Regions from separate parts of the Homo sapiens genome. Here region 1 is linked to region 2. The links are contacts of gene promoters, found by promoter capture Hi-C in blood cells and fetal thymus (Javierre and others, 2016). All regions are on one chromosome and are shown on one strand. The core of a region is centred on a gene start or on the middle of the fragment in contact, and the rest is flanking DNA. Distances in the headings are between cores, read along the strand shown. Region 1 overlaps CEP164 (centrosomal protein 164). Region 2 holds the start of APOA5 (apolipoprotein A5).

Region 1 (2,851 bases), core at 204-2,703, 550 kb after region 2:
GTTTCTTTCTGTTGCCCAGGCTGGAGTGCAGTGGCGTGATCTCAGCTCACTGCAACCTCTGCCTCCCAGGTTCAAGTGATTCTCCCACCTCAGCCTCCCGAGAAGCTGGGATTACAGGCGTGCACCACCACACCTGGCTAATTTTTTGTACTTTTAGTAGAGACGGGTTTCACCATGTTGGACAAGCTGGTCTCGAACTCCCGACCTCAAGCGGTTTGCCTGCCTCCGGCTCCCAAAGTGCTGGGATTACAGGCGTGAGCCACCTTGCCTGGCTACTTGCCTATTTTTGTAAATACACCTTCATTGGAAAACAGCCACAATGGTTTATGTATTGTGTGTGGCTGCTTCTATGCTACAGCTGCAGAGATATGTGGCTGTTAAGAGAGGTATATGACCCACAAAGGGTAAGATAGTTACTCTCCGGTTGTTTACAGAAAAAGTTTGCTGTCTTTGGGTTAGAGCAGTGATTAGATTTAAATGGAAACATAGTAGGGGGTATCTAAATACAGTGTGTTCTGAGACCAGGGGAAACCCAATTTCCTAAGCACGAACTTAGAGCAGTGTTTTTTTAAACAACAATAACATTATTAGTAACAATAACAACATAACTTATTATGTGCCAGCGTCTGTTTTAAGCACTTTGCATGTATTACCTTATTACCTTTTCCTTTGTTTTTTGTTTTTTTTTTTTTTTTTTTTTTTTGAGACAGAGTCTCACTCTGTCACCCAGGCTGGAATGCAGTGGTATGATCTTGGCTCACTGCAACCTCTCTCTCCCGGGTTCAAGCGAATCTCATGCCTCAGCCTCCTGAGTAGCTAGAACTACAGGTGCCCACCACCACACCTGGGGAACTAATTTTTGTATTTTTAGTAGAGAAGGGGTTTTGCAGTGTTGGCCAGGCTGGTCTCAAACTGACCTCAAGTGATCTTCCCACCTCCACTTCCCAGAGTGCTGGGATTACAGGCGGGAGACACCATGCCTGGCCCATGTATTACCTTTTCAACCCTCACTGCAACTCCATGAGTTAGGTACTATTATTATCCCCATTTTACAGATGAGGAAATCAAGGCACAGAAAGATTAACTTCCTGTGGATATACAGTTCTATTCTAAGTGGTGTTGCTAGAATCCACCTCCAGGTATTCAAGCTCTAGGGCCTGTACTTTGTTCTTTGTTTTTTTTTGTTAGTTTGTTTTTTTTGAGATGGAGTTTCACTCTGTCGCCCAGGCTGGAGGGCAGTGGCGGGATCTCTGCTCACTGCAACCTCCGCCTCCCAGGTTCAAGTGAATCTCCTGCCTTAGCCTCCCTAGTAGCTGGGACTACAGATGCGTGCCACTGTGCTTGGGTAATTTTTTTGTATTTTTAACAGAGACGGGGTTTTGCCATGTTGGCGAGGCTGGTCTCAAACTGACAAGTGATCTCCCCGTCTTGGCCTCCCAGAGGATTGGGATTACAGGCATGAGCCACTTGTGCCTGGCCATAGGGCCTGCACTTTGAAGCACTATGCAATTATTTGGAGTGAAAGTTTCTTTGAAATTCTGACGAGTTATGATCTAGGCATACAAAGTTTGCTTATAATTCAGGTGGTTCATGGACTTGAGAGCAGGGTTCACAATTCTTGCATCTCTAGGAATACATGGATCTCATGTTAAATGCTGGACTTTGCTTATAGCATAGGGTGTTTTTTTTGTTTTCCATATTTTTGTTTTTAGAGACAGTCTTACTCTGTCACCCAGGCTAGTATGCAGTGGCTCCATCATAGCTCACTGCAGCCTTGAACTCGTGGGCTCAGGTGATCCTCCCATGTAGCTAGAACTACAGGTGCATGTCATGTGTCTGGCTAATTAAAATAAATTTTTTTGTAGGGATAGGCTCTCACTGTGTTGCCCAGGCTAGTCTTGAACTCCTGGGTTCAAGTGATCCTCCTGTCTGGGCTTCCCAAAGTGCAGGGATTACAGACATAAGCCACTACGACTGGCCTCTTTCTTTCTTTCCTACTTTCTCTTTAGAGACGGAGTCTCACTTTGTCGCCCAGGCTGGACTGCAATGGCGTGAGCTCGGCTCGCTGCAACCTCCAGGTTCAAGTGATTCTTCTGTCTCAGACTCCCAAGTAGCTGGGACTACAGGTGCACGCCACCACACCCAGCTAATTTTTGTATTTTTAGCAGAGACAGGGTTTCACCATATTGGTCAGGCTGGTCTTGAACTCTTGACTTCAGGTGATCTACCTGCCTCGGCCTCCCAAAGTGCTGGGATTACAGGTGTGAGTCACTGCACCTAGCCATGAATGGCCTGTTTCTTAAATTTGTATACATTTGGTTGCTGTTGTAAATGGAGTCAAAGGTTTTTCTAAGGATGTTTATAAAAACTTTCTTCGGCCCAGTCCAGGTGTAGGCATTCTAACCTCAAGCCACCATTTTCTCTTCCTGGGCTATCTCAGTAGCTTCCTAATTAGCCTTACTGTTTATAAAGCAGATCATGTCAGGGCTGTGCTTTTAGTCCCCCCGCATCCCCAGTATACTCAACATAACACCCTTGATGGGATTGCAGGGCTCTGTGACCTGGCTCTTTCTACCAGTCACATTGGCCTTTTTTTGTTGTTTGTTTGTTTTTTTTTTGAGACCGAGTTTCACTCTGTCACTCAGACTGGAGTGCAGTGGTGTGAACTTGGCTTATTGAAGCCTTGACCCCTTGGGCTCAAGTGATTCTCCCACCTCAGCCTCCCAAGTAGCTGGGACCACAAGTGCATACCATCAGGCCTGGCTAATTTTTGTATTGTGTTGGTAGAGATGGGGTCTTGCCGTGTTGCCCAGGCTGGTCTTGAACTCCTGGGCTCAAGCAATCCACCCAC
Region 2 (2,774 bases), core at 33-2,532:
CGGTGCAGCTCCTGCACGTGGCGCCCGATGCCGCTCACCAGGCTCTCGGCGTATGGGTGGAAGAGCTCTTTGAAGCGGCCGGTGTGGTGCACCACGCGGCTCTGCAGTCCCTGCAGCAAAGCCCAAGCCTCGTCCACGCCCCCCAGCAACTGGGCCTTGGTGTCTTCCCCCACCACGCGCAACTGCTCCTGCAGCTCCTGCACGCGCAGGGCCACCTGCTCCATCAGATCCATCGTGTAGGGCTTCAGTTGCTGCCGCAAGCCCTCCAAATTCCAGCCCACCAGCTCGTGCGCCTCTGCCATGTAGGGCTGGAGGCGAGCCTTCACCTCCTCCAACTCCTCCTGCAGCTGCCGCCGCATGCCCACCGGGTCCTGTGGGAGCCGAGGAGCCTCGCTCCCACTCAGAGGCCTCAGCTTTTCCAGGAACTTGTTCATATTGTTGAGGTCTTGCTCAAGGCTGTCTTTCAGGGTCCTGGAGAAGGGGACAGATATCCAGGCCGTCAGACTGCTAGCCTCCATCATCTCCTTTGTCCCCAAGTCATCGCGCACTGATCCTCTGGGGGAACCAAGGACGCAGGGCGTTGGCCCCAGGGTCGAGGGCTCTTGTCCTAGCCCTGGCCAGTAACAACTCACGCACGAAGCACAAACACATTGCCCATACAAATCCAGACCTACAACACTCTCCAAAGAAACATAGATGCGCCACATCATCCTTTGATTCTGGGGACTGCAGCGGGCGTCCTCCCGATTGATCCCAGGTCCCGCGCCTCAGTGAGCAAGGGGGCAACAGCTACGGAGTTGTCAAGGCGGGGGCTGCAGGCAGAGGGCGCTAAAGAGCCCAGGATGGCCGGGATCTGCAGACAGAGCTAGCACCGCTCCTTTCCTCTGTCCCAGCAGCGGCCACAGAGGTTGAGGCAGCAGAGGCAGGTCATCATGGCATGGCCCAGCTGTCTCCTCCCTTCGCCTACACCCCTTCCCCTGGGCACTCACGCGGGCTCGCGAGCCATCTTCTGCTGATGGATCTGCTCCACCCTGCCTTTGTCCCCGCTGGTCTGGCTGAAGTAGTCCCAGAAGCCTTTCCGTGCCTGGGTGGCCGAAAACGCTGTGGAGAGGGACTAGGTAATCAGGGCCTGGGCTCTCCTCCCCCAGGGTGGACAGGGCCCTCTGGCCAGCCTCCACCCACACCCCCACGTTGAAGTCAGGGTCGGAGACCCACCTGAAAGAAGAGCCAGAGCCCAGGTGAGCACGGCAGCCATGCTTGCCATTACCTGCTCTGAGAAGACAGGTGGAGGGAGGCCTGGTTAGGGGAAGAAGGAGACGAAGGGACATGGCGCAGGGGACTTGCCCAGGGGGCCTCTGCAGGGGCAACTGCCCGAAATCCTGTTACCCCTTCCTTGGGCTGGGGAGCACAGAGCTGTTGGGGCTCAAGAGGACTGACCTAGGTGAGTCAAGGAGGCTAGGGTGTCTTCCTCAGACATGGGAAGAGGGCGTGCTCTTGCTACCTCAGTCACATAGCAGGGAGCGTGGTGCTCTAACCCCTTCGCAAAGGTCCCAGACCCCAGGAACAGTTCTCTAGGCCACTTCTACCACCTCTCCCCTGCCCACCTGTCTCCCTCCCTCCCATTTCATGGTGGAAAAACTGAGCCATAATGAGGGCGAAGAGGCAACTCTGCCAAAATGTTCCAAGAGGACGTCTTAGGGGCCACCCCAGGCTCTCCCCTGAGGCCACCTGCAATGCCCTCCCTTAGGACTGTGACCCCCATCCCTCTGCCCCAGCTGCTCACCTGCTCACGTCTGGGCACAGAGAGCAGACATTCTGCTTTATACTCCAGGGCCCTGAGCCTCTGGCACCAATTGCTCTGAGTAAATACCACGTGGAAGTTCAAAAGAAGTTGACCTCAGCTGCCTCCCAGCACTCACCTCCTGCCCTTTCCCTGGCACCCAGAGGGTTAATGAGTGCCCTGGTATCAGGGGCTGCCCCAGTAGAGAAGTGCTTCCCAGGAGCTTTACGGGGGATGGGGCTGAACTCCTCACCCAGTTTCTCCCAAACCCCATGACCTTTAACCTTCCCACTGACCTGCTGGCTGGCCCACCAACAGAGAAGAACCTGTTTGTCTGCCAAGGGCCCCTCTCTTACACAACTACCCAGAGTCACTGTGTCCCAGCCGGCAAGATGGACAGTGTTCACCTACCAGCCAGAACCCGAGCAGCCCCTGAAAGCTTCACTACAGGTTCCGCAGGCATCCTCAGCCAGCATTCATAGGGTTAAAGACCAACCACATCCCTCTTTATGAAACAATCCTGGAACAAGCAAGGGAAGCCAGGCAGGGTGAAGATGAGATGGCAAGAGGCATCTGGGCCAGGGACTCTGAGCCCCAGGAACTGGAGCGAAAGTGAGATTTGCCCCATGAGGAAAAGCTGAACTCCACTCGCAGGGCCTCTGAGGAGAGCAAGCCCAAATGCTCAGATCTTCTCTGATGACACACCCACTCCGTCTACAGTACTCATACACACGTTCACAAGCTCCCGATTCTTGGTCCTAAATGCATCTTGAATCAATCCCCTCTCCTCCATTTCCACTACCATCATTGCACCAGTTGTCTGTCACCTTGATTGCATTCATAGCCTCCAACAGGTCTTTCTACCACACTCCTGCCCATTTAATTCATCCTCCACTGTGGCTCATCCTGACTCATTTCCAGTCTCATCTGCTGCCACATAAAACCACGGCATTCCCTGAGCCTTTATACAGGCTTCCCTCTGCTTGAAATAGCC

What was found. Contacts are between HindIII fragments. The CHiCAGO score rates a contact against its expected background, and 5 or more counts as called.
Region 1: a contact is called between a fragment that was not itself captured here and the fragment with the promoter of APOA5 in region 2, in 1 of 17 cell types (naive CD4 T cells). The highest score is 6.5, in naive CD4 T cells.

The regions. Positions count from the first base shown.
Region 1 is chr11:117,338,844-117,341,694 of GRCh38, forward strand. All of the region lies in intron 3 of CEP164 (centrosomal protein 164), which reads left to right. Among named protein-coding and RNA genes, the nearest start is that of CEP164, 12 kb to the left of the region's middle. The HindIII fragment of the contact is 3,559 bases long and covers 1-2,851 here.
Region 2 is chr11:116,790,597-116,793,370 of GRCh38, forward strand. APOA5 (apolipoprotein A5) reads right to left here and starts at 1,283. Exons shown (of 3, transcript NM_001371904.1): 1 at 1,216-1,283; 2 at 990-1,101; 3 at 1-471. The coding sequence starts at 1,264. The HindIII fragment of the contact is 6,000 bases long and covers 1-2,217 here.